2 separate regions of the Homo sapiens genome follow, and region 1 is linked to region 2. Evidence: promoter capture Hi-C in 16 types of primary human blood cells and fetal thymus (Javierre and others, 2016). All regions are on one chromosome and are shown on one strand. Each heading gives the region's core, a stretch centred on a gene start or on the middle of the fragment in contact. The rest is flanking DNA. Distances are from core to core; before and after follow the strand shown.

Region 1 (4,962 bases), core at 1,471-3,970, 840 kb before region 2:
TCCCGCCTAAAACATAAATCTGATCATGTTATCTCTTGTGTAAAACCTTGTGGCATCTACTTGGTGCCCACTGGGTAGAGTATAAGCTCATTAACATGGTAGTTAAGATCTACTACCATCCTCCTAATGTCCACCTTCAGCTTCTTTTTTCCTTGCTTCTGTTTTAAGCAACACTCAGCTATTTATACAATATACCCTGACATTATGAATAGAGTCTTTGGCTGGGAGCTCATGAGGCTTAATCAGGAATTAGGACAGCAGAAGCCATGAGAGTGGACTATACCCAGCCTGATCAAGGTAGCTATATGCCCCAGACCTAGACCCAGAAGCTGTCTTAGTTTTATGTGCTAATGATGGAGATGCTGGGCCTTTCCTGGTCACTGGCACCTATGGTCTGAAGTTATCTCCCAAAATTAATGTGTTAGAAATGCAATTCCCAATTCAACAATGTTGAGAGATGGGGCCTTTGGGGAGGGTTTAGGTCATGAGAGCTCCACCCTCATGAACGAATTAATGATGTTATAAAGGAGGTTGTTGGAGGGAACTTACTCCTCTTGCCTTTTTGTCTTCTGCCATGTGGGGACACAACTTTCCTCTCCTCTAGAAGGTGCAGCATTGAAGGTGACATCTTGGAAACAGAGAGTAGCTCTCATCAGATGCTGGCACCTTGGTTTTGGACTCCCAGCCTCCAGAACTGTGAGAAATACATTTCTTTTCTTTATAAATTACTCAGTCTGTGGTATTCTGTTATAGCAGGACAAACAGACTAAGATACTGGCTTTTAGTCAGGCTCCTGGTTTCTGTAGCCCTGTATTCCTAAAGGTATTTCGCTGTGAATTCAACCAATTCTCTACAGAGCTCAACAGGATGGTCTAATTGCTTCAGCAGTGGGATATCTTAGTTCAATTCTCCTTAACCCAAGCCATGGCCCATTTGGATGAGTACTCAATATCCAAGCTCTTAAAAGAGGACACTTTGTTTTAGGTACAGTAGCCAGGAAGAAAAATATGGCAGAGCTTCCCATTCCCTTCCATACTTTTTGTGCAAGAGTAAGCCACTTTTTTCTGGACTAAACATGGCCCACTTGTGGGTGGTCTGATTTATAGAACAGATAAGGTATCAAATGTTCTTCACTGGATTAATTCTGTGTACCTTGCCCCTAATAATTATATCAGGGAAGGAATAATTCCCAGGATTGGGGCTGATTTGGCAGGGTCTCTACAATGGCACTGTTACGAATTGCTTTAGGGAGTTCATGCTTTTGAGGCTTCCCTCTTGATATCAAAAAAGGAAATAGCCCAGTAATTAGTCAGTTTCCAGTTCCTGATAGCTTGTGGGGGTGGAGGAGTTTTAGAGGGTAGGCATTAGGGGGTGGTCCTTGGGTAGATATGGCCCTTGTCTGGTTACTTCTCTTTTTCATAAATCCTTGAGTGCTGCTATGGTTTGAATGTGTTGGCTAAACTTTGTGTATTGGAAACTTAATCCCCAATGTAACAGTGTTGAGAGGTAGGACCTTTAAGAGGTGATTAGGTCATGAAGGCTCTGCCCTCGTGAATGGATTAATGCCGTTATAATGGGAGTGGGTTTGTTATTGAGAGAGTGGGTTTCTCATGAAAGTGAGTTTAGGCCGGGCGCGGTGGCTCACGCCTGTAATCTCAGCACTCTGGGGGGCCGAGGCAGGTGGATCACGAGGTCAGGAGATCGAGACCATCCTGGCTAACATGGTGAAACCCCGTCTCCACTAAAAAAAAAAAAAAAAAATTAGCCGGGCATGGTGGTGGGCACCTGTAGTCCCAGCTACTCGGGAGGCTGAGGCAGGAGACTGGTGTGAACCCGGGAGGCGGAGCTTGCAGTGAGCTGAGATCGTGTCACTGCATTCCAGTCTGGGCAACAGAGTGAGACTCTGTCTCAAAAAAAAAGAAAGTGAGTTCAGCCCTTTGTTGCTCTGTCTCTTACACACTCCTTGCTATGGGATGCCTTCTGATCTAGGCACTCAAATTAGTAAGTTCATAGGTATTTTAAATATTGTACACTGAGTTAAACAACAACAACAAAAATCAGAATGTAACAATCTAAGGAAGTCAGGTAGGTATATAAAGGTGAACCTGAGTAAAAAACTGGACATTAACAAACCCCATATATTTCTAAGAGAAATTACTTAAATATAGTTATTCTTTTGAAAAATCTTTAGAATTATAAGGTAGAGGCAAGGAAGTAACACTTTTTCTTCGTGTTGGGATTTTTTGGATAGCAATTTTTAAGCATCTGCTGACATTTAAGACATTTTCAGAAAAACAGAAAAGTTGGTCAGAATGAATATTTTCCCCAAGCATGTAGTTGTGTAAAGTGAAAATAACAGTAAAAATTTGAATATATACTCATGATCATAAAATATTAAGACAAAGAAACATGGCAAATGCACATGGTTAAGTTTTAGGAATTAAGAAGCCCTCATAAAACCAAGTATATGTATGACGATGATTCATATTTTGAAAACACAATTGTTCTTATAGAAGAACACGAAAGGGAAAGTTCAATAATGCTAAGTAGTTTTCTCTTAGGGGCTGGGAATAGGGATGACTTTTAAAAATCTCATATCTATGTTTTAAAAAACGATGAGGTACTACTTTTTTATTGAAAAACATTAAACAGAAAAAAAAAACCCACAAAAAGGAAATACAGCAAACTACAATCAGAGGTTGAGTTGCTGAGACAGGGTTGTGTTTCATTCTTTCAATATTTTTGACCGGGCACAGTGGCTCACGCCTATAATCCCAGCCCTTTGGGAGGCTGAGGTGGGCAGATCATGAGGTCAGGAGTTTGAGACCAGCTTGGCCAATATGGTGAAACCCTGTCTCTACTAAAAAATGCAAAAAATTAGCTGGGCGTGGTGGCATGTGCCTGTAGTCCCAGCTACTGGGGAGGCTGAGGCAGGAGAATCACTTGAACCCGCCAGGCAGAGGATGCAGTGAGCCGAGGTCACGCCACTGCACTCCAGCCAGGCGACAGAGCGAGAATATGTCTAAAAAAAAAAAAAGATGAGGTACTACTTTTGTACTGAAAAACATGAAACAGAAAAAAAAAAACCCCACAAGAAGGAAATACAACAAACTACAATCAGAGGTTGACTTGGTGAAACAGGATTGTGTTTTCCTCTTTCAATATTTTCCTGTTGAACATTTTTCCTATAATAAGCATATATGTATACTTCTTTTTATAACAGGAATCAAACTTTATTTTAAAAATAAAGATCAAATCCTGTTTCTTTGTTTTCAGTTTTTCTTTGTTTACAGTTTTATTATCTGACAAAGGGGGTTGGGTGGAGCATTCATAGAGCAGTTGAAAATCTAGGAATCAGTTCAAGGGTCAGAAAATGATTTTTAAAAATAATTTAAAATTTTTCTATTGATACATATAATTTCTACATACTTGGGGGCATATGAAATATTTTATTACATGCATAGGATGTGTAATGATCAAGTCAGAGTATTTAGGATATTCATTACTTTGTGGGTTTATCACTTCTATGTGTTGGGAACATTTTAAGTCCTCTCTTCTAGCTGTTCTAAAATATAAAATACATTGTTGTTTATATAGTCCCCTATTCTGCGATTGAATATTAGATCTTATTCCTTCTATCTAACTGTATGTTTGTACTTACTAATCAATCTCTCTTATCTACCCCACCCCATCAGCAAATGTTTTCTGTAAAGGACCAGACAGTAAATATTTTAGGCTTTCAGGCCATATGGCCTCTACCGTAGCTACTCAGCCCCGCCTTTGTAGCACAACAGATATAGGCAATAAGTAAATGAACAGGAGTGGCTGTGTTCCAAAAATTTATTCATTTATGGATACTGACCTTTAAATTTCATATAATTTTCATGTGCTATCAGATATTCTTCTTCTTTTGTTCCCCCACAACCACTCCACTAAAACACAAAAAATTAGCCAGGCATGGTGGCGTGTGCCTGTAGTCCCAGCTACTCGGGAGGCTGAGGCGGGAGAATTGCTTGAACCCGGGAGGCGGAGGTTGCAGTGAGCCAAGATCACACCACTGCACTCCAGCCTGGGTGACAGAGAGAGACTCCGTCTCCAAAAAAAAAAAAAAAAAGATTTGCTTCTAATTTGGATGTCTTAAGAAAAAGATGCCAAGCCATTTTGTTGAAACATTAATATAGGAATAGGACGACCTGAAAAAAATGCTCATGCAAATCCAGGTCTATAAATATTGAGTCTTTTTGGTGCTGTGCATTTCTGGAAAACATGAATAACATATATGAATCAGTGATGACTGTATAACAGAGGTATAAACAGAATATTGTAGGAACACATAGGAGGAAGAGTAATTCTGATCATGGAAGATGACTTTGTATTTATTAGAGAAATTGGTAAGAAACAGTCCAATAGTGATATGGTTTGGCTCTGTGTCCCCACCCAAATCTCATGTTGAGTTGTAATACCCAGTGTTCGGGGAGGAACCTGGTGGTAGGTGATTGGCTCATGGGGCGGATTTCCCCCATTCTGTTCTTGTGATAGTGAGTTCTCACAAGATCTGATGGTTTTTAAAAGTGTGAGGCACTCCACCCCTTGCTTTCTCTCTCTCTCCTGCCATCATGTGAAGAGAGTGCTCACTTCCCATTTGCCTTCTGCCACGACTGTAAGTTTCCTCGGGCCTCCCAGTGATGCTTCCTGTACAGCCTATGCAACTGTGAGTCAACTAAACCTCCTTTCTTCATAAATTACCCAGTTTCAGATAGTTTTTTTATAGTAGTGTGGGAACAGACTAACACAAATAGGGAGACTTGAGATTAGATGGTTGTCATGGCAAAAGCCAACACTGCAGAAGACAAGTGTTTTAAAATATTGTCTCTAGGCACTACTAAGGAAAAATTACTTTTGTGGGACTCATAACATTTTAAATAATAAATAAATCAGAGAAAAGGGTTCATTAAAAAATTG
Region 2 (5,177 bases), core at 1,928-4,427:
TCAAATTTGCATAAACCCAAACAAAACTCCAGTTTTTCTTCTAAAAGTTCTACTCTGCACTTCATGATCCACAGTTTGAAAGAACTGTTCATTGCAAAACTTGTATTTGGAAAAAGTGCCACCTTCTTAAAATAACTTACTTCAAGTGTTCTAATGTTAGCCTCTGCATTTTGACCACTTCATTATTACATGTTCTGTCATAAAAAGGATTACTTCTTTCTGAAAAGTAATCCAGGACACTACCACTGTTCAAAATAGGGATCCAAGAGCTGTCAACCCAAGAAATTCCCAGCAGATTGTCTATGGGAAAGAAAACAAAATGATAAAGGATTAGAAAAATAGAAAGAATCCAATCCAACAAACATTTATTATACATCAAATGTAGTAGGCACTATGAATATAAGGATGACATAGATCCTAACCAACACACTCTCATGATGTAACAGAAGAGATTATGCAAGAAAGCAATAACATGATTAAGTCTTATGATAAAGACATGGTGAAACCCTGTCTCTACTAAAAATACAAAAAATTCTGGCCGGGTGCGGTGGCTCAGCCTGTAATGCCAGCACTTTAGGGGGCTGAGGTAGGTGGATCACCTGAGGTTGGGAGTTTGAGACCAGCCTGACCAACATGGAGAAACCCCGTCTCTACTAAAAATACAAAATTAGCCTGGCGTGTTTGTGCATGCCCATAATCCCAGCTACTTGGGAGACTGAGACAGGAGAATCGCTTGCACCCAGAAGGTCTCGGAGATTGTGGTGAGACGAGATCACACCATTGGACTCCAGCCTGAGCAACAAGAGTGAAACTCCGTCTCAAAAAAAGAAAAAAAACAAAACAAAAAATTAGCCGGGCATGGTGGTGGACACCTGTAATCCTAGCTACTCGGGAGGCTGTGGCAGGAGAATCACTTGGACCCAAGAGGCGGAGGTTGCAGTGAGCTGAGATCGCGCCACTGCACTCCAGCCTGGGCGACAGAGCGAGACTCCGTCTCAAAAAAAAAAGACATGAAGAAATGTGTTACGAGACTACAGAGGACCTGGGGAAACGAAAATCATTTTTCATGTGGAGAGAAGGTGGGTTTTAGCACGGTATGTTAAAGAATAAATAAAAACTTACACAGAGAAAAGGGCAAAGTAATTCCAAGCAGAGAGAATGTATATACAGAGGTGTAAAAATATAAAGTATATTATATCTTTAGAGAATAATTTCATTAGGTGAAGAAGTGATAAGATTTAAAATTTAGAAAGGACTTTTTTTTTTATTGGAAATCCTTAATGCTGGCAAGGAATTCAAAATTTTCAAATAACATGTATGCCCAAGAGAACACATCTATAGCTACCAGTTTGAGATCTCTCAATTAGGGATAGAGAAGTTAGGAAGCTATTATTGTAGATGAGATGATAATGATGTAAAAGCTAAGGGATAAACAGGAAGTAGAGTTCCCTTAACTACAGCCACACGGTTTCATATTTAGCGTAGAATTAAATCATAGCTTTTAAAAAGACATGATAGAGCTAGATACTTTTAATAAATGAGCTTGTATTGGCTATTGGCTTTCATGATGCTTCATACCACTGACTGTACTGAACACCACTAGGTGTAAATCATGAACATCAAAATGCCTATACAATACTGGTTGAAAAACTTCAATCTCTCTTATACTGTCATTACCTCAGGCATCTTCAAAGAAGTCAGACCTAATTCAAGGTGACAGGCAGTTTTGAGCCAAGTGACTCAACCGAGAAAAATTATATAAAGGTAAAATGTACTTTGTGTGCTATAAAATAAAGGAGGAGACAGATGAAGTGCGTTAATAACCAAATAATTAGTATAGACCATTTAGATAGTTCATCATAACTGGATCATGCAATAACCAAATACACAACAGGCCAGGAAATAACATTTTCAGAAATGGCCTCCTAACTGGTTTTCCTAATTCTACCCTTGCCCTCCTACACTGTTCCCAGCAGCCAATGTAGTCCTAAAAAAAAGTCAGATCACATCATTCCTCTGATGGAAACCCCTCCAATGGCTCTGCGTTTTACTCAGAGGAAAAGCCAAAGACCTTATCATAGCTTTCAACACCTTTCTGACTTCATCTCCTTCCCACATCCTCTCTCACTACCCTCCAGCCACACTGACCTCCTTGCTGTTCCTTTAACACACCAAACACACTCTTATTTTAGAGTCTTTGCCATGATCCTAACAATCTGAATTATAAGTAAAACATTTTATAAACTAAATATTTCTCTTTTTTATTCTGTAGCAAGGCAACATGTTGACATAGCCCAAGCATTCTAACAGCATTCTAACCATCAGCAAGTGATGAAATAAATAATGAAAGACACGTATGTAAAATCATGATCCAGAAGTGCTGCAGATCGCCAGATAAGTATAAATGAGAATATTTGTAATAAATGTGTTAGACCCCAATCCAGTTAATATTAAAAAAAGGCATCTCAAACATCTCCCTTTAAAAATCAAGTACTATATACACAAAAACAACTCTACATGCTCCCCAAGATCAAGCAGCAGTTAAGGGGTGACATCTCCATACATTTATTCACTGACTGATTCAATATTTGAGTACTTCTGCAGTTCAGCTGTGAAAAAAATACGACCCCTGCCCATAATAATTGCTGGACGTTCGATGTAAAGTATTATCGACTCAAAAAAAAAGAAAATATCTGGGATTCATGCTCAGGGACCCGTGTGGCGCGGTCTAAAGAATTAGGCAGCCACCATGCCAAGTCCCAAGAGATGAATCAAATCAAGTTGGCTTATTACCCCATTCCCTTCTCTGCCTAAACGCCATTCCTTCACTCCAATAGAATAGCCCTAATGTTGTTGCAGAGATACGTGTGTAGAACAAAACTCCAGCTCTGAAAGCTCAAAACCCAGAGCTTCTTCCAACCCCTTCTCTCCGACGCTTCCAAGAGACGCTCCAAGAACTCAGAAAAAAAAAAAAACTCGTCAACGTTTCGCTAGATCACAGCCTTGGGTTGTCCACAAAAACCACTCAAAAAAGCTTGAGACTTCACACAAAGGAACCTAAACCTTGAAACCGCGAGCTATAACATCCCAAACTGGTCCACAGACAATCAAGAGACAAAATATAGCAATACAGTATACCTCGGATATCCACCGCCGCCATAATTCCGAGAGCGTTTACAGGTTCTCTTTCCGGCGCAAAGTAAACGTAAGCCTAGGCCGCCGGAAGCAGCGGGTTGAAGAGAGTGCGCATGGGTGAGGAGGGACGTAGAGCGGAAGAGGGGGCGGGGCGGGCAGGAGAGAGGCAGGGGGTGGAGGTGCGGGTGGGAGGGGAGGAGACGCGAGGGGGCGGAAAGCGGGAGAGGCGCGGGAGGCGGGAAACGTGGGGTGGGGTGGGGTGGGGTGGGGTAGGGGAATGGGAGGGGACGGGACGCAGAAAGATTGGTGCAGGGGAGCAGGGAAAGACTAGAAGAGGGATGGGCCAAAGAAGGAGAACGGGAGGGCGGATTACTGGGAAAAAAATTAGAAGACTTAGAGGACAGAAAGACCGAGTGGAGTCCCGCCCCACGCCCACCACTGATGGAAGAATTCTGCCTTGATCGTCTGTGATCGTCAAGAAAACAAATTCTGATGCTGTAGAGTTGTGCTTGGGAGTGTCTCTTAATTTTAAAAGCTCCCCGGGTGTATCCACTGAGCTATCAGATTTAGGAACGATGGTCATTTATATTTTTCTCCCTGCCTCAGGTATTGGGATGGGACAGGACTTAAGAATTTGGGAGTCATTGGCTTTTATGTGACTAAATCCATTAAAAATCTAAACCAATTAAAGAAGCCTCTGAGAAAAATTTCACAACACAGGAAATGCTTCTGAAGTGAAATATTAATAAGATTAAGAGAAAGGGAATACCCCTGGGTCCCAGAGTAATGAGCAAATGTCTGCATTCCAAGTAGTCTGGAGTAGGTAGCAAGGCTCCAAAGAGGGAATGATTCTGTGTACGGGGAAGCTACAGAAAGCCTCAGATTCTCAAGCTTCAGTGTGGCTCTGTAAAAGCAAAACGATACAGAAATATGCAAACAACACACAGATACTAGGAAGAGGATGCCAAAATCTGAAGGAGGGATGAGGGCGGGTGCCTACATCTTCTCCAAAACTTAGGTACTGTGAAGACTCCCCAAGAATTTAACCACAACCCAGGAGCAAGAGGGGAAGACCAGAAATTTAATTGGGATTTTCAACCTCATAGACAAGGAATTAAAAATTTGTTAACTCCGTAGAATAAAAGTACGTTGCCTGTACATTTCAGTTTGGGAATTTTCTGCCTGAGATGGTATGTATAAAATAGGTGTCCCAACAGAAGTATGTGCATGCACAGAGTAAAGTTTTGAGAGAGAATTTTTCAGGAGGGCCTGGTTGGGAGCCTAGTGGGAGGACATTGCAAAAAGGAAGAGTATCGTGTCCAATAAAAAGTGTGATCCATAAAGCTTTTTGTTTTGTTTTTCTAGTTTTTTGTTTCCTTGTGTTTTGATTAGGCTAGAAGGAGATTAGGAAGAATAGTGACAGAATGCAGATCTGTAGATAATAAAACATATGGTATGCATGGTAAATAAGACCTGGAAGCTCAACCTTTATTTTGTAGGCAATGGGAGAAATGTGATCAAGCTTCCATTTTAGAAAGATAACTTGAGGAAGACAGGGCAAGGTGGCTCACGCCTGTAATCCCAGCACTTTGGGAGGCCAAGATGGGAGGATTGCTTGAGCCCAGGAGCTGGAGACCAGCCTGGTCAAGATAGCGAGATCCCATCTCTATTTCTTTTATATTAATTGTTTCAGTTAATAAAGAAATATAAATTAAAAAGTGTGGTAACAAAAACAAGAGAAGACAAGATAGGGAGGAAGCCACTTTGGGTAGGACAGTCAGGACAGGCCTCTCTGAGGAAGTGATACCTGAGATGAGACCTGGAAGATGAAAGCAAATCACTCATGTGAAGAGCTGGGGCACAAGCATATCAGACAGAGGGGACCATGGACCCTACAGTGGGAAAGGGGTTGGTCTGAGAACCACAGAAAGGCCAGTGTAAGCCGGGTTGTATGAGTGAAGGATGAATGATGGGAAAAGAGACTGGGAATGAAGGCAGGGGCCAGATGATAGAGAGCCTGGTCAATAATTTATTTTTTATTC

What was found. The method cuts DNA at HindIII sites, captures the fragments that hold promoters and counts their contacts. A CHiCAGO score of 5 or more calls a contact.
Region 1: a fragment that was not itself captured here is called in contact with the fragment with the promoter of MED6 in region 2 in 1 of 17 cell types (fetal thymus); the score reaches 5.6 in fetal thymus.

The regions. Positions count from the first base shown.
Region 1 is chr14:69,759,688-69,764,649 of GRCh38, forward strand. No RefSeq gene overlaps it. Among named protein-coding and RNA genes, the nearest start is that of SRSF5, 5.0 kb to the right of the region's middle. The HindIII fragment of the contact is 6,711 bases long and covers 1-4,962 here.
Region 2 is chr14:70,597,478-70,602,654 of GRCh38, forward strand. It overlaps MED6 (mediator complex subunit 6), which reads right to left and starts at 3,178. Exons shown (of 8, transcript NM_005466.4): 1 at 3,139-3,178; 2 at 141-300. The coding sequence starts at 3,160. RefSeq lists an enhancer at 2,680-3,879. The HindIII fragment of the contact is 992 bases long and covers 3,033-4,024 here.